Linked DNA regions of Homo sapiens: all the other regions are linked to region 4. The links are contacts of gene promoters, found by promoter capture Hi-C in blood cells and fetal thymus (Javierre and others, 2016). All regions are on one chromosome and are shown on one strand. The core of a region is centred on a gene start or on the middle of the fragment in contact, and the rest is flanking DNA. Distances in the headings are between cores, read along the strand shown. Region 1 holds the start of CAMP (cathelicidin antimicrobial peptide). Region 2 overlaps ZNF589 (zinc finger protein 589). Region 3 overlaps CELSR3 (cadherin EGF LAG seven-pass G-type receptor 3). Region 4 holds the start of ATRIP (ATR interacting protein). Region 5 overlaps SLC26A6 (solute carrier family 26 member 6). Region 6 overlaps NCKIPSD (NCK interacting protein with SH3 domain).

Region 1 (3,783 bases), core at 749-3,248, 220 kb after region 4:
GGGGAGGCCCATTCTTGTATTTTCTGATTTGTGTCCATGACCTCCCCACCAAGAGGGCAGGCTTTCCACAGTACCTGATGTGCGACGGGCACTGGGTGCTGGGCTTGGCACTGGGGCATTGAGGGGAGGAGGACTGAGCCATTCCTACCCTCCTAGGTGAACAGTGAGTAGGAGCAGACCTCAGATGAGCTCTAACAAGGAGCCCCTCCCACTCTGGGGTGGGGGCAAGGGAAGTCAGGGGGCTTCCTGGGGGACAAGACATGCCCACTGGAACCTAAAGTCTGGATAGAGTTCTTCCCTATGTGGGGTAACGTGGTACAGAAGAGACTTAAAGCAGAGGAGGTCACTGCCCAGAGCCAATGACCCCATTCTAGTGCCTGGAGCTCGCAGAAGTCCCAAAACCTGCGTGGGGTCGGGGTGAGGGTATCTCTGCCACAGCAGGAATTATAAGGCAGGAAGCTCTCGAGCTGGGAGGAGACACGAGCTCTAGAAGGTTCCCTGGAAAACACGGGACCACATTTAAAGGGGGAGATGCCCTCCTGGCAGGCAGTGCAGCAGGAGCAGAAGGAACAACACGTGGCCAAGCCCAGCCAGAGCAGAGCAGAATGTCCCCCAAAGCTCACCATCGTGGGCCTGGGGTCCAGGTCCAGGAGGCGGTAGAGGTTAGCATCCGAGGACCGCTGGTTGATGCCATCTATAGCACGAAGCACAGCTTCCTTGTAGCTGAGGACCTGGGCAATGATGGCCAGAGGCATCACCAGGCCCAGCAGCAGGAGCACCAGTGACCACCGCCCCAGGGAGTGGCCATCCCTTTGGGTCTTCATGGTCCCCATGTCTGCCTCCCTCTAGCCCACAGGAGCCTCCTTTATGCCCAGCCTGAGCCTGATGCAAAAGCCCAACCAGGAGCCTTCCTGATCCACCCATCCCTGGCTGCCTGCCAGGGTGTGGGCTGGGGTTTGCTTTAGCCCCTGGCTATTGCTTCACAGGACTTGCTGGGCAGTGAGTGAGGCCTTCCTTGTGTGCAAGATGAGGAAGTGGTTTCTTCATCTCTGACAACCTCCCAGACCTGACCGGAGATTGTCATAGCCAGGGGTGCTCAAGAGCGTTAAATCCCTCCAGAGAGGAAGAGAGCCAGGTGCCTATTCTACATCCTTCTACTCCTCAGGAGTCAGTATGATGGACTGCTAAATCTCCAGCTCTAGGCATTGCCTGGCACCCTGTAGGCATCGATTAAGAATTGATGAATGAGGCAGGGCACGGTGGCTCACGCCTATAATCCCAGCACTTTGGGAGGCCAAGGTGGGCGGATCACCTGAGATAAGGAGTTCGAGACAAGCTTGGCCAACATGGTGAAACCCCATCTCTACTAAAAATATGAAAATTAGCCACGCATGATGGCTCACACCTGTAGTCCCAGCTACAAGCTGAGGCATGAGAATCACTTGAACCCATTGAACCCGGGAAGCAGAAGTTGCAGTTAGCTGAGATCATGCCACTGCACTCCAGCCTGGGTAACAGAGTGAGACTCAGTATGAAAAAAAAAAAAAAGAACTGGTAAATGAAGACAGTAGCCACCCCCAACCTAGAGACTCACTCTTGCAAGGGACAAGTTGCCCTTTCAGTTCAAGGCCATACCACATGCTCTCTGGACCCAGCCGTCAGCCAGACGAAGGCTCTGCTCCATCTATCCCCTTCTGCATCCTTCTTCACTGTTTTTTTCAGTCTCAAAATGTTCCCAAGCCCCTCCAGACATGGCCTTTCACCATGGCTTCTCCCAAGCCAAGTCTTAGGAAAGGTTGTCTACGCTTCTTGACCCCATCTTTTCACTCTTCTTCATGCTGAAGGCCACTGAAGGCTGGCCAACCCACCCTTGGTCCATGGCCACCCTCAAGCCTGGTCTTTGTCTGCACAGGCACTGGTGAGCCTTCCTTCTTGCTGCCCCGGTCTCCCCTGATGCCACTCTCCTGCTGTCCCTCCTGCCTCCCTGGTGGCTCCTTCTTGGTCTCCCCTAAGGGCTGTCTTCTTAATATTGAGAGCGTGTGGGGTCACCTCCTGGGCTGCTTCTCTTCCCTGGCCTCGGGTTTCCCTGGGGACGCCCTCTCCCAGGACACCAGTTATAATAGGCAGACACCACCCAGTCTGTATCTCTGAGTTCGAGACTCCCATGAACGTCCCGGTTGTCCCCACTGGGCCTCCTTGACTGCTCTTCTGCTGAGTGCCCACTGCATGAGCCCTGAAGCACCTTTGGCTCCTTCCTCCCGAAAGCACTCCCCTCTGGCCTCTCCTTCCACCCCTGCCTGGCTCCTGCCGCCATCTTCTCTCCCATGCAATGCTGCCCCAGCCTCCAGACTCCACCTTCTCTAGGTTTCAGGCTCTCCCCAGACCACAGTCCACCCTCCACACCGTTGTCCAGGGGTTCCTTTAAACCACCAATTTGGCCATTTCAACCCTCTACCTTCAGGAGCCCACACACCCCCTAGGCTGGCATCAGGGCCTGTGGCCTTTTGGTTCCCACTGCCCTCACCCCAGCCCTGCACACTGCAAGTGCCAGACTGTCACGTATGCCCCCATCACATAGGCTCATCTGAGCCTCCTGCTCTTTCTCCCAGCTCTGCCCCGATCCTTCTGTTTGGCCTGCCCTTTCACCTCATGAAGCTTTCCCTGACCTCCAACCAGGCACAGCAATCTCCTCTTTGCCCCTACATCTTCCAGGAAGTCTCTCCTGATTCGACCTCAAATTACTCCCTGTTTGGTGCTCTAGCTGAGACACCAAGCTGGGATGGGTGGCTGGTGTTGGGAGAGGGAGAGATCACAGCCAGGAGAGATAAAGGGCCAAAGTGATAGAGGGGTCCAGCGTCCATGAGGCAAATTCCGGTCCCAGCTCCTCTGTGGACTGGCCATGTGGCCCTGAGGCCTGGGGTACCTCTTGACCTCAGTTGGCCTGTGGGACACTTGGGGGCTTGGACAGCAGGGCTCCTGGAAGGTGGAAGCCTGGACGAAGGCCACCGGTTGCACACCTGGCCTTGAGAGAAGGAAGAAGTGGGCTTCTGTGCAACCTGGTTTCACAGTTCAAGTGTTGCCCCAGTGGCCTGTTGGTCAAGCAGGGCTTGCACATCAGGTCTTTTATGGCTGTTGGGAAAAGGGCCATCCAGGGATATCAGACCTCTCAGGGCTCTCCTGCTTCCTCCACCCTTCTGACTGGCTTCAGGATCCCCAAGAAGCCAAACCGGGGAGAAGCAGATGGCAATGTTAGTCCTTAGGCTAGGGCGTGAGAGCTGCATGCTCCTGTGTTCCTCTAGGTCAGATCTGGCATATTCAGAGCCCCTTTCCAACTGCCTCAAGAGGACGTTCCACTTCGGCCAGTGCTGGACACGCCCTCACATGAAATCAGCCAGAGCCCAAGCAGCTTGCATAGGCCCTCTGATACAACTGCAGAAGTCTGGACTCAGGGGCACTTGCTTTCCCTCTCAGGGCCATCGCACAAGGTCCAGGCTTCCCAGGTTCCAGGAGTGAGTCCTGCCCTCGGCACATGCAGGTCGGTGTCCACTACCTGAGGTAGGGCGGCTGACTTCAGACCTTTAGAACCCATGGCTGCCCCTTCCTCCTAGAGAGGGAGAAAGGAGGCTCTCACCAGCTCGCCTTTTTCATAATGGCTCACCCCATTAATAGAGTGATCAGAAGATTCTAGGCAAGGCGGAATGAGAAAAGAAAAGTGAGGCTTAGCCGGGCGCGGTGGCTCACGCCCGTAATCCCAGCACTTTGGAAGGCCGAGGTGGCCTGATC
Region 2 (3,799 bases), core at 169-2,668, 200 kb after region 4:
ACAGAGCGAGACTCCGTCTCAAGAAAAAAAAAAGAAAATGTTAAACACAGAAACAGAAGTCTGTGATTTAATGAAAATATTTTTTAAAAATGTGTCAGGCCGGTTTCAGTGGCTCACGCCTGTAATCCTAACACTTTGGGAGGCTGAGGTGGGAGGATCACTTGAATCCACGGCTTCAAGACCAGCCTGGGTGACAATGAGACCCACATCTCTAATAATAAAAATAATAATTATTATATTGTTTTAAAAACTTGTCAATGTTATTCCTTATTTTACAAAAGAGCATGAGTAAAAGGAGAAAAAAGTATTAAAGACCATTACAACAGCATTTCTAAAGCGCAGCTTGTCAGACTCTCATTCCTCTTCAAATTATTGTGGAACTGATTGATTGATTGATTGATTGAGATAGGGTCTCACTATTGCCCAGGCTGGAATGCAGTGGCACAATCTCTGCTCATTACAACCTCCACCTCCTGGGCTCAAGTGATCCTCCCACCTCAACTTCCCTGGGATTACAGGCATGCACCACCATGCCCAGCTAATTTTTGTATTTTTTGTAGAGATGGGGGTTTCACCATGCTGGCTAGGCTGGTCTCGAACTCCCGACCTTAAGTGATCTGCCCACATTGGCCTCTCAAAGTGCTGGGATTATAGGCATGACCCACGACGCCTGGCCTATTGTGGAATTTTAAAAGGTAAGATTTTAACATCTCTGGAGGGAAGCTCAAGCTTTCCCTGCCATATCTGTTTTTTTTTTTTTGAGACAGAGTCTCACTCTGTCACCCAGGCTGAAGGTCAATGGCACGATCTCAGCTCACTGCAACCTCCGCCTCCTGGGTTCAAGCAATTCTCCTGCATCAGCCTCCCAAGTAGCTGGGATTACAGGCACCTGCCACCATGCCTGGCTAATTTTCGTATTTTTGGTAGAGACAGGGTTTCACCATGTTGGCCAGGCTGGTCTCGAACTCCTGACCTCAGGTGATCTGCCTGCCTCGGCCTCCCAAATGCTGGGATTACAGGCGTGAGCCACCGCGCCCAGCCTTCTCTTCCATATCTTTGCTGAGGGGAAAGAAGAATGTTTTTCTGATCCTTGGGTGTCACTGATTCTGAAAGTTCAGAAAAGGAACTGGGATGTCATATTTCTAACCTGTGACCTGTGCCTTTGTAGAAGGGACAGAGTCTGGGGAAGGGAGTGCCTCTCAGGGGGACGAGGGTCTTAGCAGCAGTCTGAAGCTTCCTCCTTGACACCCTTTATTCCAGGCATATGTGTTTATAAGATACATAGAAGCTGGCCAGGCTCTGCACGGTGCCTCATGCCTGTAATCCCAGCACGTTAGGTGGCCGAGGTGGGCTGATTGCTTGAGCCCAGAAGTTCAAGATCAACCTGGGCAATGGTGAACCCCATCTCTACAAAAAATAAAAAAATTAGCCGGGCGTGGTGGTGTACACCTGTAGCCCCAGCTACTTGGGAGGCTGAAGTGGCAGGATCATTTGAGCCCCAGAGGCAAAGGTTGCAATGAAGTGAGAGATCACACCATTATACTCCAGCCTCAGTGACAGAGCCGGGGAAACCCTGTCTCTGAAAAGATACATATAAGCTTATAATGGCTGGGCGTGGCTCAAGCCCATAATCCCAGCACTTCGGGAGGCCAAGGTGGGCGGTAAGTAGTTCGAGACCAGCCTGGCCAACATGGTGAAACCCCATCTCTACCAAAAACGCAAAAATTAGCCAGGTGTGGTGGCGCATGCCTGTAATCCCAGCTTCTCGGGAGGCTGAGGCAGGAGAATCACTTGAACCCGGGAGGCGGAGGTTCCAGTGGGCTGAGATGGTGCCACTGCACTCCAGCCTGGGCAACAAGAGTAAAAAACTCCATCTCAAAGAAAAAAAAAAAAAAAGCTTATAATTCGTCCCATCTATTTTTGAGCTCCCCAGAGTAATAGTGCAGTTACTGTGGGGAATTAGGCTAAGGGTAGCCTTGTCCTTGGGTTTGCAAGAAAAAAAAAAAGGCCCTAAATGTGATAATGACATCACCCCTGCTGAAATCATCACCCCTGGAAAACACTCTAAACAGACCCCAGCAACAACTCTGGCTTTTGTACTAAGTGATGAGAATGTGTCAAGTGATTTCATAAAGACATATATACAATTTCTCCTCTTGCATGCCCTAGAAAACCATCATCCTGGCCCCATAATATGTGCCTATACTATGTATCTATCCAGAACTGCACATTTTTGTGTAAATGGAGCAGCATTTTAAAATTAAAAATATATATATAAAATTATAGTCTTGTTTGATAACTGTCTGGGGTAATTTTCCAAGTTACTGTTTTCCTGACTAAACTCAGGAGGAAAACAAAGCAATCTTACTATTTCAAGTTCTAAAGTTTTAGAAGAAGAAAAACTGAGTACCATTATTTGGCCACTCCCAGTGGCTACATCTGAGCAAAGCACAAGGCAAGGAGGCAGCTCCTCAGTCTTTTCAGCAAAAAAGACCATCTAAGCCTCTCCCTTCCAGAGGGACAGGTGGTTCTGATCCCACTGAGCAGGTGGGAAAAAAATGAGGGACACAGAGTAACCTCACACAGCTGAACTAAGGGATCCTACCTCCTGAGTCCTGACTCTGCCCTGACTCCTTAGGTGCCTCTCCCCAGCATGAGACCACTCACAGGCAAATCCTTCAGAGAGGCAAATAAGTCCTCCAAAAAGGGAACAGGTGCTGAATCACAGGCACACTCCAGGACCTCACGATGTGCCTCCGCCCATGTTGGACACATCTGGGAAGCACTTAAGCAAGTCAAAGAACCTTTCTAGCTCTGTGACCACAAAACATCTTCTTTGCCACTCATGACAAGAGGGAAAAGTTATTATCCTTCTAAAGTTCAACTTAGTGTTACTGCCTTTTTTTTTTTTTTTGAGACAGACTTTCACTCTTGGTGCCCAGGCTAGAATACAGTGGCGCGATCTAAGCTCACTGCAACCTCCACCTCCTGCCTCAGCCTTCTGAGTAGCTGGGATTACAAGCGCGCACCACCAAGCCCAGCTATTTTTGTATTTTTAGTAGAGATAGAGGTTCACTATGTTGGCCAGGCTGGTCTCGAACTCCTGACCTCAGGTGATCTACCCGCCTCAGCCTCCCAAAGTGCTGTGATTACAAACGTGAGTCACCGCGCCCGGTCCATTGTCTTTACTTTCTTTAGCTTTGCTATCCAATTGAACTGGTCTTGGCACAGTAGGCAGAGACAAAGCCCACCACCCTCAAAGAGTGGATGGAAGGAGGCACAAGGGCTCCCACACAGGACAAACAGCTACATGCTGAACAATGGCTTGGCAAACTACACACAAGCCAAATCCAGCCTGCCACCTGTTGTTATACCACCCAAAGGCTAAGAATAGTCTTTACTTCAGAAAAAAAAAATTTTAACACAAAGATGAAGTCTCACTATGTTGCCCAGGCTGGTCTCAAACTTCTGGGCTCAAGTGATCCTAGCCTCAGCCTTCCAAAGTGCTGGGATTACAGGCGTGAGCCACCATGCTGGGCCAGTTTTTACATTTTTAATTGGCTGAAAAAAAAATCAGAAACAGAATATTTCATAATAATGAAAATTATATATGAAATTCAAATTTCCTTTTTTTTTTTTAGAGTCTCATTCTGTTACCCAAGCTGGAGTGCAGTCATGCGATCTCGGCTCACTGAAACCTCTGCCTCCAAGGTTCAAGCAATTCTTGCGCCTCAGCCTCAGAGTAGCTGGGATTACAGGTGTACGGCACCACACCCAGCTTATTTTATTTTATTTTATT
Region 3 (3,834 bases), core at 1,335-3,834, 200 kb before region 4:
GAGGCTCCTCAGGGTCTGGTTGGCTGCATCCAGGTGGGGGTCAGCATGGGAATGTGATATGGGGCATTAGGGTCAGGGGTCAGAAGTCAGGGGCTCCTTGGGACCTGAAAGGCAGTATTCAAGTGGGGGTTGGTGCGAGGGGGTGAATGACCCAGAGTTGAGAGCTAGGTCAAGCCTTTCTGTGGCATTGGAGGTGGGAGTCTAGCTTGGATTATCAAGGGCCTTTAGGAATCTGTGTCAGAAACAGCACAATTAGGGTCCCACAGGGGTACCAAATTGGGGATATTTTTGAGGCCTGGGTTTTTTGAGGGTATCAGAAGACTGCATGTCAAGGATCATCAGACCGGGTGGCTGGCTCTGCAGTACTTGAGGCTGAGGTGCCTTAACATGGTCTCACCCCTTGCTGGCTGTGTGTCCACAGGGGGTGTGGCTCGGCTCCACACCCTCTGGCTCCCCGGCCCTGCTACCCCCCAGCCACCGAGTGAATGCGGAGCCTGGCTGTGTTGTGACCAACGCCTGTGCCTCTGGGCCCTGCCCACCTCACGCAGACTGCCGGGACCTCTGGCAGACCTTTTCTTGCACCTGCCAGCCAGGTGAGCCTTGAGAGGGTTGGGGGAAGGGTGACCTGGGCAGGCGTTAGGGGCCCATGATGAAGACTGGGGAACCTGAAGGAGGCAGGGACTCGGGACGGGTGCCTGCTTCCTTCCATGCTCTGCGACCAGGATCCTGAGCTTTCTGACCCAATCTGCAGGTTACTACGGCCCAGGCTGTGTGGATGCCTGCCTCCTGAACCCCTGTCAGAACCAGGGATCATGCCGGCACCTGCCAGGAGCCCCCCATGGCTATACCTGTGACTGTGTGGGTGGCTATTTCGGGCACCACTGTGAGCACAGGTAAGAGGCTGGGGCTGAGGCGATGGGGAGACCTGGCAGGGACAGGGAGGGTCACTGGGATACCGTGGAGGCATCTTACCTGGCTCTGCACCCCCAGGATGGACCAGCAGTGCCCACGGGGCTGGTGGGGGAGCCCAACCTGTGGCCCCTGCAACTGTGATGTTCACAAAGGTTTTGATCCCAACTGCAACAAGACAAATGGGCAGTGTCACTGCAAGGTGCGCCTGGCCCCTGACCTTTTAACCCTTCCTTGGACGCAATCTGCAATTCCTGTCCAGCTTGCTGACCTCCGCCACCTGACTTGGGCCCTAACCTCTTGCCTGTGTCCTGTGACCAAGTTGCTGTCTCTCATCCTTTACCCGTGACCCCTCCCTTGGCTTCACGCATGACCCAGGTGTCCTCTGGCCCATGAGCACTGTTCTCTTGACCCTTTATCCTTGATTCCACTCATTCCCCAAGCCCTGACCTCTGACTTCAGGCCCCTGGCCCATCCTCAAACAGGAGTTCCACTACCGACCGCGGGGCAGTGACTCTTGCCTCCCATGTGACTGCTACCCTGTGGGCTCCACCTCGCGCTCATGTGCACCCCACAGCGGGCAGTGCCCCTGTCGCCCAGGAGCCCTTGGCCGCCAGTGCAACAGCTGTGACAGTCCCTTCGCAGAGGTGACAGCCAGCGGCTGCCGGGGTGAGCAGGCTCCACCCAGCTCCACCCATAGAGGGCTGGTTCCAGTGTGCCACCATCACGTGTCAGTGGCACACATGGCTCCTTGGGGACTCTGGAAGCTTCTCCTGAGGGAGACCACTTACACCCAGGGAACCCTACCTTTGCCCCAAGTACTTTGCTGACCTGTCACAGAATCTGACAGGTCAGCTCCTGAGAAGCCAGCAGGAGTGGCGGGCAGTGGGCCTTGTGGGGGGTGGTGGAGGGGCAGTGGGTGTGGCTGTCAACTGCCCTGTACCCTGACTGCCTGGCTCAGCACCTCTTCTCTCTCTAGTGCTCTATGATGCCTGCCCTAAGTCCCTGAGATCTGGTGTGTGGTGGCCCCAGACAAAGTTTGGCGTCCTGGCCACAGTGCCCTGTCCCCGGGGGGCCCTGGGTGAGTATGTGGGGGGAAAGGACATCACTGAGGGTGGGGGTGGGCCTGTACTCTGACTGCTAGAGCCATGTCTTTTCCTAAATTGGGTGGCTTTGTTCCTGCAAAGAGGTGGAAGTGGGGTGGGAGTCCATGTGGGCCCCTCCCTACACCCTCATTGAGCCTCCATCTGTTTCTCTTGGCTTCTGGGCAGGATTGCGGGGTGCAGGTAAGGGGTACGTGTTTGCTCAGGTGCACTGCCCCCTCCCACTACCAGAGCTTTTGCAGACCCCTCCTGCTGCCTGAGGTCCCTGCAGACCCCTCCCTGCTGCCTAAAGTCCCTGCAGGCCCCTTCTGGCTATCTGAGTACCCCAGGGGCCCTTCTCTGATGCCTGAGATCCTCAGAGACCCCTCCCCATTGCCTGAGGACCCTGCTGACCCCTTCTCAGTTCCTGGGGTCCCCATAGAACTTTCCCCACTGCCTGAGGTCACGAAAGATCCCTCCTCAGTCTGAGGACCCTATAGCTCCTTCCTGCTGCTTGGGGGCCCCTCCCCACTGCCTGAGGTCCCCTCAGAACACTCCCTGCTGCTTGAGGTCTCTGCAGTGGCTGGACAGAGATTGTTTGTGTACGCATGCTCACGTGTGTATCTCTGTGCCTGTGCACGTGTCTGTGAACCTGTTGCGGGGAGGGGATTCTGTGATTAAGTTAGGCTCTCTCTTGTTGGTAGCTACAAACTTTTTTAAGATCCAAGTCAATTCTCATTCAACCTCCATCCCAACCCCAGAGACAAGGGAGAGAAATGACAGCAAAGTAACCACTGGGGCAGTTAAAACTTGTGTGAGAATCCTCCCACCTGACTTTCACTGGATGTTCCTAGAAGCCCTCTTCTGTGTTGGCATGTCTGTGTGTGTGCGAGAGAGCATTGTGTGTCTGCGTACTGGTCTGGTCCATACATCTGTGTGTAATTGGTGAGCATTGGTGTGTGTCTGTGTGAACCAGCACATCTATGAGCCAGTCCTGGCCCACGTGGGTGAGTGTGTGCAGCCCCACCCTTGTGCTTTGTGTGGTTGCTGGTTGAGAATGGTCTACAGCCCTCTCAGGAATTGCCTGACAAGCAGCTGGGGCCTACCTGGGCTTGGGCCGCTACCTCCAGGGGTGCAGCTATAGATGCTCATGACTCTGACTTCTGCCTCAGGGATTCCCCCAGCATAGGAGAGGGTGCTGCGGTTATCTCCTCAGCAAAGGTATCCAGGCCCCAGGCCTGACCAGGGGTTGCCTGCCTCCAGGTGCTGCTGTGCGGCTGTGTGATGAGGCCCAGGGTTGGCTGGAGCCCGACCTCTTCAACTGTACCTCCCCTGCCTTTCGAGAGCTCAGTCTGCTGGTGAGACTGCCCAGACCTTTTCCTGCAACCTAAGACCTTCCTTGGCCTGTGGTGGGCCCCAGATACCACACCCTAGCCCTTGAACTCCTGAGCCTTTCCTGGTTGCCCTTTAATCTGGCAAGGCTTTCTCCCTGTGAAGCTTTAGAGGAAGGCCTAAGGGACCACAGAGCAACCATCTCCTTGTCTTGGCAGCTGGATGGCCTAGAGCTGAACAAGACGGCACTGGATACCATGGAGGCCAAGAAGCTGGCTCAGCGGCTACGGGAGGTGACTGGCCACACTGACCACTATTTTAGCCAAGATGTTCGAGTCACTGCCCGCCTGCTGGCCCACCTGCTGGCCTTCGAGAGCCATCAGCAGGGCTTCGGGCTGACAGCCACACAGGATGCCCACTTCAATGAGGTGGGGCTGTGCCCTATGTTCTCAGTGCCTTGGCCCCCCAGCTCCCAGCCTCCTGCCCCTGGATCCCCAGCTCAGGCTCCTGC
Region 4 (3,390 bases), core at 721-3,220:
GAAATGAATGAATGAAAAGTATACTCAATGTACAAAGAAAGAACAATGTATAAAGTTCCTGTATTGTAAAGAAGCAGAGAGAATTCAAAGAATGTTAGTGCAGCCAGGACCCAGAGAGTGAGAAAGGGCCAAACCAGGCTGGGCCTTTCAGGCCATGTTAAGGATTCTGGTCTTCACACTAGAAGAAATAAGAAATTATTAAAGGGCTTTCATTAGGGGTGTTCATGGCTGGGTGCGGATGGCTCATACCTGTAATCTCAGCACTTTGGGAGACCAAGGCGGGTGGATCACCTGAGGTCAGCAGTTTGAGACCAGCCTGGCCAACATGGCGAAACCCCGTCTCTACTAAAAATACAAAAATTAGCCAGGCATGGTGGCGGGCACAAGTAATCCCAGCTACTTGGGAGGCTGAGGCTACTCGGGAGGTTGAGGCAAGAGAATCTCTTGAACCTGGGAGGTAGAGGCTGTGGTGAGCCAAGATGGCATCACTGCACTTCAGCCTGGGTGACAGAGTGAGACTCCGTCAAAAAAAAAAAAAAAAAAAAGGGTGTTCACGTATATCTGTGTAAGACACAGCCAGATTTGAGTTTTGAAAAGATCACTCAGAATGTGATGTGAAGCCTCACTTGTAGGGAGTCAAGACTGGAAATGGGAAACCAATTTAGCAGACCATTGTTCAAGAGAGGACTCATGGTAACACAGATCAGGCAGCTGGTAGAAGCAATGTGAATAGGATAGACTCCAGAGAAGGATTAAGAAGGTAAGCTTGACATGCTTTCCAAATAAATTAGATGTAGAGTCAAGGAAAGGGGAAGAGTCGCTTTGTGCCACTGGATGGAGAGTCGTGCTAGTTACTTCCTTGTGGAACATCTGGTCATCATTCTCTGAATGTCTGCTTTGCCGGCACCATGCTAGAAGTGCTGGAGGAGGACTGGGTTTCCAGGAAATGATCGTGTTGAGTTTAAGGTGCCTTGAGACACCCAAGTACAGATGCAAGGTGCACTCAAAACATTTCTCTTTCTGGGAGTCCTCAAGACTTCACTCACTCCTCAACTAGAATGTAAGCTCCATGAAGGACAGTTTTTGTATTTTGTTCATTGTAAGGTCAGCTGCAGTTCCTCACGTTTGGGCACCTAGCACAGTTTACTGGTTGTATAAAAGAATAAATTTATTTCATCTCTTGCCTGTGTCTGGCTCCTCCCATGCTCACACTGCCCAAGGGAGACAGTGGGCTTCATAAGATCTAAAGCCGCTCAAACTTGTCACAAGAATGGGTCCCCATGCATGGGTAGTGATGGTTCTGATGGTGGTGGTAGGTGTGTTCCAAGGATCTCTGCTTAGAACCAAGAACCAAGTGGCCTAAACTTTAGAAAATAACGTAAAATGTCAACTTAGCCTTCTGTGTTTCAAATCGGCTGTTTGACCTGGCTAATGCATTTCCCCCTAAAATCAAAGGACCTTCTGGAAGACAACCGCTGCTTAAATCAGGGTGTTCCCATATTTTAAAAAGGCGAAAAGGCAGTGCTGGCCGCGAGGTTCCGAAGCCACAGCCATCAAGGGGATCTGGCGCGGTTGACAACTCCCTCCGAGCAAAAGGCCGCGAGGAGCACTCACTGGACACGTCCCGAGCCGCGGCCGGACATTGGCTCAGGGCCTGTGACGCGAGGGTGTCAAGCTCCTCCAGGTCGTCGGCAGTGAAGTCCCCATGCGCGCCGAACGGGTCGTCAGGGTCCGGGGCAGCGGCTGCGGAGAAGCCCCGGGCCCGCTTGCTCGGGGGGTGCCCGGTGCCCGGCGGCGGGCCGGGGCGAGGCGCCGGGGGCTCGCTCCGCCTCTTGCTGCCTGGCGCGGAGGTCCCCGCCATGCTTTCCGCTCACCCCAAGTATCCGACAGCGCCGAGCTAGACTTGCCTGCCGCCAGGCCGGAGAACTGGACCAACCGTCCGCGCGCCGCCGCTTGCCTCCGCCGCGAGTGCCCCGCCCCTGGCCCAGGGGCCAATCAGCTGGCAGGCGGAGGGCGCGGAGGAATGACGAACGTCCGAGCGCGCCGCCACACCCGGCCCCGCCCGGTGTTTAGAGGTCCACGGGCGGGATTCGGCAGGTTTGCTGCAAGGACTCAGTGCGGCGCGACCCGTTACCGGAGAGGCGGGCCGGAGGCGCACCAGCTCCGCCGCGCTGGTGGCTTTGCGCTCCCTCCCTGGCATTCCGTGGAGGAGGGCCGCGCAGGAGCAGCCTGCCCTAGCATTCACGCGTGTTGCGTTTGAGTCGAGCCAGGCATCATTCAGGGATGTGGTCTCCGTGACCTCGCTTTCCTTCTGCCGCCAGACCCACCTCCCACAAACCCCTAGGCTTTCTTGAGGAGAGTGGAATTTGTTGGGTGAGGAGTATGAATAGAGCTGTCGTGTGCAGACATCTTCGGGTTTAGTGAATGTTTCACATGTGTACATTTGAGGTAGGCCCAGGGAGGAGGAAAGTCCAAGGAGGAATGATGTTTGGAGCTGTTCTTGTGTGGGAGGGGGTGGGAGCTGCTCAGGCTGTTAACATCCATTCCTCTGAGTGCTGGACTGTTTTTTTTTCCTAAGCTCTGGTTGTATAGAATAGGGCTCAGGAGGTCAAGGAAGTCCCCCTGTAAATGGCACCTGCGCTGTCCTACAAGTTGAGTCAAGTTAGCAGGATAGAGGGGTAGGAGGCTGGCACATAAGACTAACACGAGAATTCTACATTGAAAGGGAGGCCACACAAAGGCCAGGTAAGAGTTACCGGTGGCGAACAGAGGTAAAGCTTCACAAAGGAGCAGCAATTTGAGGTGGGCTTGCGTGCCTGACAGATTTTATTGGGCAGCTGTGGTGTGCAGAAGTTAGCCGCAATAGAGAATTTGGCAATGGAGAGTAACAGGAGCAAGACTCTTTCAGCCTTACCTGCTCAGTGCCAAACTTCACCTGTGAGTGTCCTAGGAATATTTGTGAAAGCATTAAATGAAAAGAGTAAATGAAAAAGAGAGTGCTATCAGGGCCTATAATGTCTAAGGAGTTTAAAATTTTTTGGAGCAACTGGTAGTCTCCGTCAGATAGCTTCCCAAGTGTTGCATGCTTAATTGCTGCAGGACTCTGGTCCTGGAAAGAGACAGGACTGTTCATTTGTTAAAGAGGGATAGGTTCCACCAAGTAACTTGCTTTCAGGAACAGTGTGAATCACTGGTGCTCAGGTTTGTTTTAGCAGCATACGGCTGGGTGCCAGCTAGCAAGGCCCCACAGGGAATGCCTGAAGCCTACTGAAGGGTGCTACTGGCTGTGCAACTTTCTGGAGAGGACCAACACAGGCTTCCCCCTGCCCCCTCTCCCGCGTTAATATCTAGTACATTAATCATGAAAGTTTTCAATATTCTAAAACCTAG
Region 5 (3,928 bases), core at 1,153-3,652, 180 kb before region 4:
GAGGTGTAGGGGAGGTTGGGCCAGGGATGCCTTCACTGTGTCTCTCTGGTCTTGCCACCCCAGACCGAGGGACACACAGGCACTGCTGTCTGCAACACAAGCAATGGACCTGCGGAGGCGAGACTACCACATGGAACGGCCGCTGCTGAACCAGGAGCATTTGGAGGAGCTGGGGCGCTGGGGCTCAGCACCTAGGACCCACCAGTGGCGGACCTGGTTGCAGTAAGGCCAAGATTGGGGCCTGGGGGCGCTGGCGGGGCCCAGGTAGCCCCTGTTCCTGACACCTACCCCTCATATCATGTCCCTAGGTGCTCCCGTGCTCGGGCCTATGCCCTTCTGCTCCAACACCTCCCGGTTTTGGTCTGGTTACCCCGGTATCCTGTGCGTGACTGGCTCCTGGGTGACCTGTTATCCGGCCTGAGTGTGGCCATCATGCAGCTTCCGCAGGGTGAGCCACCTTCAGTGCGTCGGCCTGGAAACCCTGTGGTCTGTGATGCCCAAAACTGGGGCCATGACCTCTACCTTGGAACTATGGCACCTAACCCAGGGCTGGGATTCCCTTATCGTTTCAAGATCTGCTCTCCAGGCCTGCACTGCTACCATTCTACCCCTAGGCTTGGCCTACGCCCTCCTGGCTGGATTGCCCCCCGTGTTTGGCCTCTATAGCTCCTTCTACCCTGTCTTCATCTACTTCCTGTTTGGCACTTCCCGGCACATCTCCGTGGGTAAGTGGAGGCAGGCCTAGCCTTCCAGGAGGATGCCCACATCCATCATGGAGGGCAGGGTGAGGGGGCACTGAGCAGGGCAGGAGCGGCTGGGGAAGAGGGCAGCATTGGTGCTGCATCCCTGGGCTAGCCCACGAGTCATCCCCAGGCAGGACTAGACCCCTGACTGTAGGACCACAGAGGCAGGTGACCTCAAAGCCCTGGCTCCAGGAAGATGAGAGTGGGTGAGGCAGCCCAAGGGGCCTGGAACTTGGCAGAGGCCTGAGCAGCCTAAGGCCAGCCCTGACCCCTTCCCTACTCCACAGAGAGCCTCTGTGTCCCGGGACCAGTAGACACAGGTGGGACAGGGTAGATGAGACAGGGCCAGCATTTCTAGCCATGCTTAAGGGCCTGTGAGCTCAGGGTTTACTCCTGGCCTGGCCAAACCTGAACCGCCAGCACTGTCCCTGTTCATGCAGCCATAATCTGAGTACATTTATCCAGAACTGGAAGTCTCCTGGCCTCTCTCTTAAGACCAGGGCTCCAGGGCAGGGCAGTGTCCTCTCCTCTTCAGACCTGCCCCGTGCCGTCCTTACAGGGACCTTTGCTGTCATGTCTGTGATGGTGGGCAGTGTGACAGAATCCCTGGCCCCGCAGGCCTTGAACGACTCCATGATCAATGAGACAGCCAGAGATGCTGCCCGGGTACAGGTGGCCTCCACACTCAGTGTCCTGGTTGGCCTCTTCCAGGTGTGGAACAGTCAGGAGTATGTGCCCCCCACCACCACTTCTGCTCCCGCCACTGTCCTGTCTGTACTCCCCTGAGTGTCTGACCATCGTCGTCCTCCTCTTGCCGTCTACTCATCCCCCTCCCATCCCACTTGCCCTGCGCTCCTCATTAGCAACCCCAGGACCCCTGCCTCTCCTGACTGCCCCTGGCCGCCCCACAGGTGGGGCTGGGCCTGATCCACTTCGGCTTCGTGGTCACCTACCTGTCAGAACCTCTTGTCCGAGGCTATACCACAGCTGCAGCTGTGCAGGTCTTCGTCTCACAGCTCAAGTATGTGTTTGGCCTCCATCTGAGCAGCCACTCTGGGCCACTGTCCCTCATCTATGTGAGTGAGGGTAGGGGGAGGGAGGGGTAGGTGTGCCCCATGGCCTTGAGTGCTAGCTGTGACCTGGCCTCTCCTCAGACAGTGCTGGAGGTCTGCTGGAAGCTGCCCCAGAGCAAGGTTGGCACCGTGGTCACTGCAGCTGTGGCTGGGGTGGTGCTCGTGGTGGTGAAGCTGTTGAATGACAAGCTGCAGCAGCAGCTGCCCATGCCGATACCCGGGGAGCTGCTCACGGTTCGAGGGCCAGGGAGTGGAGGGCAGGGGAGAAGGGCAGGTCAGGCTGGGTCCTTGCCACGTGGGCAGCCTCCTGTATTTGAGGGCCAGCTGGAGGGGGGCTGGGAGGGTTCTTGGGTATTGTGGGGGGCACAGCAGAAAGCCCCTATGTTGGTTTCTTCCTGCCCCTGACAGCATCTCCCCATAGCCGAAATGGTGTTGCCTGTCTCTCACCCTACGTGACTTTTTCCCACCCTCGAAGAAGGTTTTGCCCAGTATCTCCCTCCTCACCTCACAGTGGTTTATGTGTCCCCCTGACCATGGTGCCAGCACCTGCCTCCCTGACTCTGTCCTCTCCCACAGCTCATCGGGGCCACAGGCATCTCCTATGGCATGGGTCTAAAGCACAGATTTGAGGTAGATGTCGTGGGCAACATCCCTGCAGGGTGAGCTCTGGCCTCCATCAGGTCAGGGAGGGTTGGGCAGCCAGGACAGGACCTTGCTTTGGCCTCACAGATACCTCTCACAGGCTGGTGCCCCCAGTGGCCCCCAACACCCAGCTGTTCTCAAAGCTCGTGGGCAGCGCCTTCACCATCGCTGTGGTTGGGTTTGCCATTGCCATCTCACTGGGGAAGATCTTCGCCCTGAGGCACGGCTACCGGGTGGACAGCAACCAGGTCTGGGTGATGCGGGATGTGTAGGAGGCATCCAAGTGTATGGAGGCGCCAGCAACGGGTGGGGGAGGAACCGGTGGGACACAGGGAGACAGCAGATGTGCTGAGGCCACGTGGGGGACTGAGGGTGGGAGAGCAGGACGTGTGGGACAGCATCCAGTCTCTGGGGGCCACTTGGTGGGGATGGAGATTGGGGATGCACAGGCCTAGATACAGTGGAACAGTGACCAGCCACTTCTAGGAAGTCTTCTCACACCCGTACTGTCCCCCGTCAGGAGCTGGTGGCCCTGGGCCTCAGTAACCTTATCGGAGGCATCTTCCAGTGCTTCCCCGTGAGTTGCTCTATGTCTCGGAGCCTGGTACAGGAGAGCACCGGGGGCAACTCGCAGGTGGGCTTTGGGTGTGGGCATGGGTGTGGGCATGCACATTGCTTTGCCTGGGGAAGGAGGTCTCTCCCCTGCTCACTCCCTCCCCGAACAGGTTGCTGGAGCCATCTCTTCCCTTTTCATCCTCCTCATCATTGTCAAACTTGGGGAACTCTTCCATGACCTGCCCAAGGTGAGCCCCCACCCAGCCAGGTTTCAGGTCTTGGCCAGGCCAGGGCTCTCAAATCAGCCAGTCTAGGTTCAGGCGAGGGGTGGGGACACAAGGTTAGGTTCTGTTTTTCAAGGCTGAGATCTTCAAGGTGAGATTTGGAGACAAGGGTCAGGGGCTGGGTGGGGGTTTGTGTCTGGGGTACTGCCTGAGTGCTTGGGCTTAGTCTGGCTTTGCCTCGGTGAGGAGGGTTGTCAGCATCGGGTGCCCTCAATGGCCCCTGGTGGCACTGTCCCCACCCCAGGCGGTCCTGGCAGCCATCATCATTGTGAACCTGAAGGGCATGCTGAGGCAGCTCAGCGACATGCGCTCCCTCTGGAAGGCCAATCGGGCGGATCTGGTGAGTGCACTGGGAGCCCAGGGCAGGGACTGGGCAGCCCCATGGCTCCTCGCCGCCCTCCAACCGCTGCCCTCTGTTCTCAGCTTATCTGGCTGGTGACCTTCACGGCCACCATCTTGCTGAACCTGGACCTTGGCTTGGTGGTTGCGGTCATCTTCTCCCTGCTGCTCGTGGTGGTCCGGACACAGATGTGAGTCCGCCATGTTGGTCCCCTCATTCCAGCTAGTGAGAGAGTACCACAGGGCTCCCCGCAGCTTTCCCCACATCTCTGGGGACTTCAGGCTCCTTCGG
Region 6 (3,875 bases), core at 355-2,854, 240 kb before region 4:
GAATGGCGACCCTGAGCCCCACCGAATCCTGGCCAATTATTCAAATCCCTGAGACCCCAGATCCTTAATATGCCCCTTCTCTGGATTCCTAGGACCCCACAACCAACCTCCCTCCCTCCCTCCCTCCCTCCCTCCCTCCCTCCCTTCCTTCTTCCCCCAACCCCGCGCCTTGCCCCCCGTTGGAGCCACCACTGAGACCTGGACCACCTTGGACACCACCTGTTTCCCTAGCCATTCTCCAGGTCCTCAACCCCCCAACTTGGACCCTAGAGCCATAGACACCTCCATCCCCTATGTAACACCCAAGCTTTGGTACTTCAGTGTCTTTCACTAGCCTGTGTTCAGCCACCCTCTAAGCTCTTCTTAAGTCTCTACCAACCTTATTTGAACCAAGGACCCATGCCCCTGCTGACACTGTCTGCTCCACTCCCCAACCCTGACTTCTCAAACTTTCTTGCTTTGAAAATGGGTTCCATCCCTACTTGTTCCCAGCCTGGAGTGGGGACTGCTCACATTGTGATGAAGTGAGTTCTTATAGCTTCTCCTGGTCTGATCGTGGCCCCATTTCCTTCCAGTGGAAGCTGCAGTCCCAGTTCCTGTTTCCCTAAGAGTAGCCCTGCTGCGGGGGTTGGGGTGCGTATCTCCAGCTGGTCTATTCTGACCACAGGGGGAAGAAGGGCCCAGAGCTGCCGGGCCTGTGCCAGACACCCCCGCCCCGTCCTAGTCCTTATCCTTTAGGAAACATCCTGTCCCAGCCCAGTTCAGGACAGAAATAACGGGATAAATTTGGAAGTGTCATCTGGTCTTACCAGGAAGGATGGGCCCTGGGGGCCTAGGGGCTTCCTCATAGACCCTTGGCGTGATCCCATCTAGGAGTGCCAGGGGTGGGAGTGGGGGCCGTGGACACCATGGCTGCTGTGTGTCAGACCCAACCTTTTTGGGAATGGGGTCTCATTGAAGGCCTCTGAGGAAAAGTCCTGTCTCTTCCCCTACTGGGCATAGGTCAAGGGCCTGTGAGTCCCCTGCCGCCAGCCAGGACCAGTGGGGCAAGGTGTTTGGGGAGGGCAGAGAGGCTACCATCTTCTCTGTCACTGTCTGTTTCTTTCTGCGTGTCTCTTTCTGTCTGGATTGCTGCGACTCTGTGCCTCTCTGCCTGTGTCGTTCCGACTCCACATGTGTGTGTTTTTGTTTCTTCCTCCGGCTCCCCCCACACTCTGGCTTTGGCTCTGTTTCTTTCTGCGTTGTTTCCCTCTGTCTGCCTCTCCGTTCCTCTCTGAGCTCCTCTCTTTCCCCATTCCTTTCTTTCTCTCTCTCTCTGTGTGTGTGTGTGTGTGTGTGTGTGTGTGTGTGTGTGTGTCTTCATGTCTTTCTATCCCCCTGTCTCCTCTCCCTGCACTCTGGCACACCTCATACCACCTGGAGGGCTTTGCTGACCTCTGTGCCCACCTGTCTGTGCCCATCAGGGAAGCTTCTCAAACCCATGGTGGAATGAGTTCATCTCAGCTCCGGGACTCCTATGTAGCCTGATGGACTACGTGTGCCAGGGCCAGGGGAGGGCTGGGGGTAGCTGGTTTGATAGCTGCTACCCTACACTCCCCATGTCAGATAGGCAGAGTAGACTGGATCCCTGGAATGTTGGGGATGGCAGTACAGAGCCTGGAACAGGGGCTAGGCCCCTCTCTCATGTTTATCCTTTGCCACAAACACAGAACTGCTTCCCAGGGTGGGTTTGGAAGCTTACTGAGACATCTTGTGGGGATGAGGGCCAGCAGCAGGGTTGGGGAGGGCAAGTCCCTTTGACCCATTCTCAGCTCCCAGGGCTTACAGAGGGCCCTTACAAGGACAGGGCTGTTCTGGGGTATGACCTTGGTTTTGTGAAAGATCAGCAAGATGCAGAGTGATGTATTAAGGATTCCAGATACTGGAGACTTCCTGTTTGGCATCTCAACCTGGGCTCTGAGCCAAGACCAGGGATAGACGAGGTATGCGCTCCTGGCTGCAAGCTGGGAGCCCCTGGGCTATGTTTTTGCTTTAGACCTCTGATTTTCAGAAACATCTTAGCCAAGAGCCTTGCTGTGGGGTAAAATCCTGATCAGGACCTAATATGTAATGTGGCAGCATGGGGGTCACCCTGTGCCTCAGCTCCCTGAGTGATACAGTTTGAGAACCCCATTCCATATTCTGGTTCAACTTTTTGTGCTATGTCTAGCATTCCAGGCTTTCGCTATATTGGTTCTCTGCCCTGGGTTCTATCTCGGGCTGGGCCTGGGCTGAGCACCTCCGTTTGGCCTTCAGGTCTAACTGCTGTCCCCTGCCCCCCCCAGGGCCTGGAGCAGGATGTCCTCCAGGCCATTGACCGGGCCATCGAGGCTGTACACAACACAGCCATGCGGGATGGTGGCAAGTACAGCCTGGAACAGCGTGGAGTCCTCCAGTGAGTGTTGAGGGGAGTGAAGTGGGACCTCCCGGTGAGCATGGTGGGGTGGGGTTCTTCAATGAGTGTCATGGGGCAGGTGGGCCTGGGAAATGCGAGGGTTGGCAAGGGTGGTGGGGGAATGGCACCTCCCAGTGAGCAAGGTGGGGTCGGGTCCTTCAGTGAGCACCAGGGGTGTGCAGAGCGCAGGACTGAGGATAGTATGGGGTACTGTAGGCTGGGGTGGAGCATGGAGGAGATGGGGATGTCTGAGGGGCCTGGGCTATGGGGTCCCAGCATCCCACAGGGGCATATGAGGACTTTGAGCTGTGAGATGCAACCCCCCAATAGTCTTCCTGTCCTTCCATCAGGAAGCTGATCCACCACCGGAAAGAGACCCTGTCACGCAGAGGCCCTTCAGCCTCCAGTGTTGCAGTTATGACCTCATCAACCAGTGACCACCACTTGGATGCTGCTGCAGCCAGGCAGCCCAATGGGGTGTGTCGAGCTGGGTTCGAGCGGCAGCACAGCCTACCCAGTTCTGAGCATCTTGGGGCAGATGGAGGCCTCTACCAGGTGTGTGGGGAGGACATCGTGGAGAAGGGAGGTGGGTGGAACTTGAGGCTTCATCCAGAGGCTCAAGGGGTCCACTCAGGAGTGATGCGGCCCAGAGCCATAGTCCTGCCCACAGCCAGGGCTCAGGGCCCGAGCCTCGCTGACGCTCTAGATGTCAGTCTGTCCTCCAAGATCCTACTTCCATCTTCCAGATCCCACTTCCATCTTCCCAGATCCCACCACAGCCTCGCCGAGCAGCACCCACCACACCGCCCCCACCAGTGAAGCGCCGAGACCGCGAGGCCCTGATGGCCTCTGGGAGTGGTAAGAAGGCAGGGTTAGGGGAATTCAGGTGGAGGCACCCTATGCTTGGAATGGTTGTGCTGCCTGTGTCAGGGAAATGGAGGCTCTAAGCTGGGGAAGAGGACAGGACTCCCATTTTGGGGCAATTAGGGGCTCTGGGCTTTGTGAGGAGGCAGTGCCTAGCAGAGAAACTAGGCCCTGTGTTAGGGGACAGGGGATCTGGGCTGTGAAGGGTATGGTTTTCCAGGGGGCTGCCCTGGCCCAGCTTCTACTCACTGCTCGCAGGTGGCCACAACACCATGCCCTCCGGGGGTAACTCTGTGTCCAGCGGCTCCTCAGTCAGCAGCACCTCCCTGGACACGCTCTATACCAGCTCCAGCCCATCTGAACCAGGCTCCAGCTGCTCACCCACACCCCCACCTGTGCCCCGCCGAGGCACCCACACCACCGTGTCCCAAGTCCAGCCCCCTCCCTCCAAGGCATCAGCACCTGAACCCCCTGCAGAAGAAGAAGTGGCAACTGGTACAACCTCAGCCTCTGATGACCTGGAAGCCCTGGGTACACTGAGCCTGGGGACCACAGAGGAGAAGGCAGCAGCTGAGGC

Evidence for each region. Contacts are between HindIII fragments. The CHiCAGO score rates a contact against its expected background, and 5 or more counts as called.
Region 1: a contact is called between a fragment that was not itself captured here and the fragment with the promoter of ATRIP in region 4, in 2 of 17 cell types (endothelial precursors and M0 macrophages). The highest score is 6.0, in endothelial precursors.
Region 2: a contact is called between a fragment that was not itself captured here and the fragment with the promoter of ATRIP in region 4, in 3 of 17 cell types (endothelial precursors, megakaryocytes and M1 macrophages). The highest score is 8.1, in endothelial precursors.
Region 3: a contact is called between a fragment that was not itself captured here and the fragment with the promoter of ATRIP in region 4, in 1 of 17 cell types (M0 macrophages). The highest score is 5.8, in M0 macrophages.
Region 5: a contact is called between a fragment that was not itself captured here and the fragment with the promoter of ATRIP in region 4, in 1 of 17 cell types (M1 macrophages). The highest score is 5.6, in M1 macrophages.
Region 6: a contact is called between a fragment that was not itself captured here and the fragment with the promoter of ATRIP in region 4, in 1 of 17 cell types (M0 macrophages). The highest score is 5.2, in M0 macrophages.

Annotation. Positions count from the first base shown.
Region 1 is chr3:48,220,553-48,224,335 of GRCh38, reverse strand. It overlaps CAMP (cathelicidin antimicrobial peptide), which reads right to left and starts at 841. Exons shown (of 4, transcript NM_004345.5): 1 at 624-841. The coding sequence starts at 824. RefSeq lists a silencer at 863-1,157 and enhancers at 1,167-1,216, 1,227-1,356, 1,377-1,496. The HindIII fragment of the contact is 1,319 bases long and covers 1,339-2,657 here.
Region 2 is chr3:48,242,908-48,246,706 of GRCh38, reverse strand. All of the region lies in intron 1 of ZNF589 (zinc finger protein 589), which reads right to left. Among named protein-coding and RNA genes, the nearest start is that of ZNF589, 3.7 kb to the right of the region's middle. The HindIII fragment of the contact is 365 bases long and covers 1,236-1,600 here.
Region 3 is chr3:48,648,636-48,652,469 of GRCh38, reverse strand. It overlaps CELSR3 (cadherin EGF LAG seven-pass G-type receptor 3), which reads left to right. Exons shown (of 35, transcript NM_001407.3): 11 at 1-33; 12 at 422-593; 13 at 752-893; 14 at 991-1,111; 15 at 1,395-1,578; 16 at 1,889-1,990; 17 at 3,255-3,349; 18 at 3,542-3,751. Among named protein-coding and RNA genes, the nearest start is that of MIR4793, 6.3 kb to the right of the region's middle. The HindIII fragment of the contact is 1,812 bases long and covers 1,679-3,490 here.
Region 4 is chr3:48,445,317-48,448,706 of GRCh38, reverse strand. It overlaps ATRIP (ATR interacting protein), which reads right to left and starts at 1,970. Exons shown (of 13, transcript NM_130384.3): 1 at 1,615-1,970. The coding sequence starts at 1,861. It overlaps ATRIP-TREX1 (ATRIP-TREX1 readthrough), which reads right to left and starts at 1,928. Exons shown (of 15, transcript NR_153405.1): 1 at 1,615-1,928. It also overlaps a transcript of CCDC51 not described here. RefSeq lists a silencer at 1,666-2,025. The HindIII fragment of the contact is 2,012 bases long and covers 768-2,779 here.
Region 5 is chr3:48,629,771-48,633,698 of GRCh38, reverse strand. SLC26A6 (solute carrier family 26 member 6) reads left to right here. Exons shown (of 21, transcript NM_022911.3): 2 at 64-222; 3 at 309-448; 4 at 615-725; 5 at 1,303-1,454; 6 at 1,655-1,819; 7 at 1,898-2,050; 8 at 2,393-2,475; 9 at 2,559-2,706; 10 at 2,979-3,092; 11 at 3,184-3,261; 12 at 3,542-3,637; 13 at 3,721-3,827. It overlaps MIR6824 (microRNA 6824), which reads left to right and starts at 1; the gene lies at 1-63. RefSeq lists enhancers at 3,221-3,721, 3,722-3,928. The HindIII fragment of the contact is 5,706 bases long and covers 1-3,928 here.
Region 6 is chr3:48,681,462-48,685,336 of GRCh38, reverse strand. It overlaps NCKIPSD (NCK interacting protein with SH3 domain), which reads left to right. Exons shown (of 13, transcript NM_016453.4): 2 at 2,325-2,434; 3 at 2,785-2,989; 4 at 3,181-3,292; 5 at 3,557-3,875. Among named protein-coding and RNA genes, the nearest start is that of NCKIPSD, 2.5 kb to the left of the region's middle. The HindIII fragment of the contact is 268 bases long and covers 1,471-1,738 here.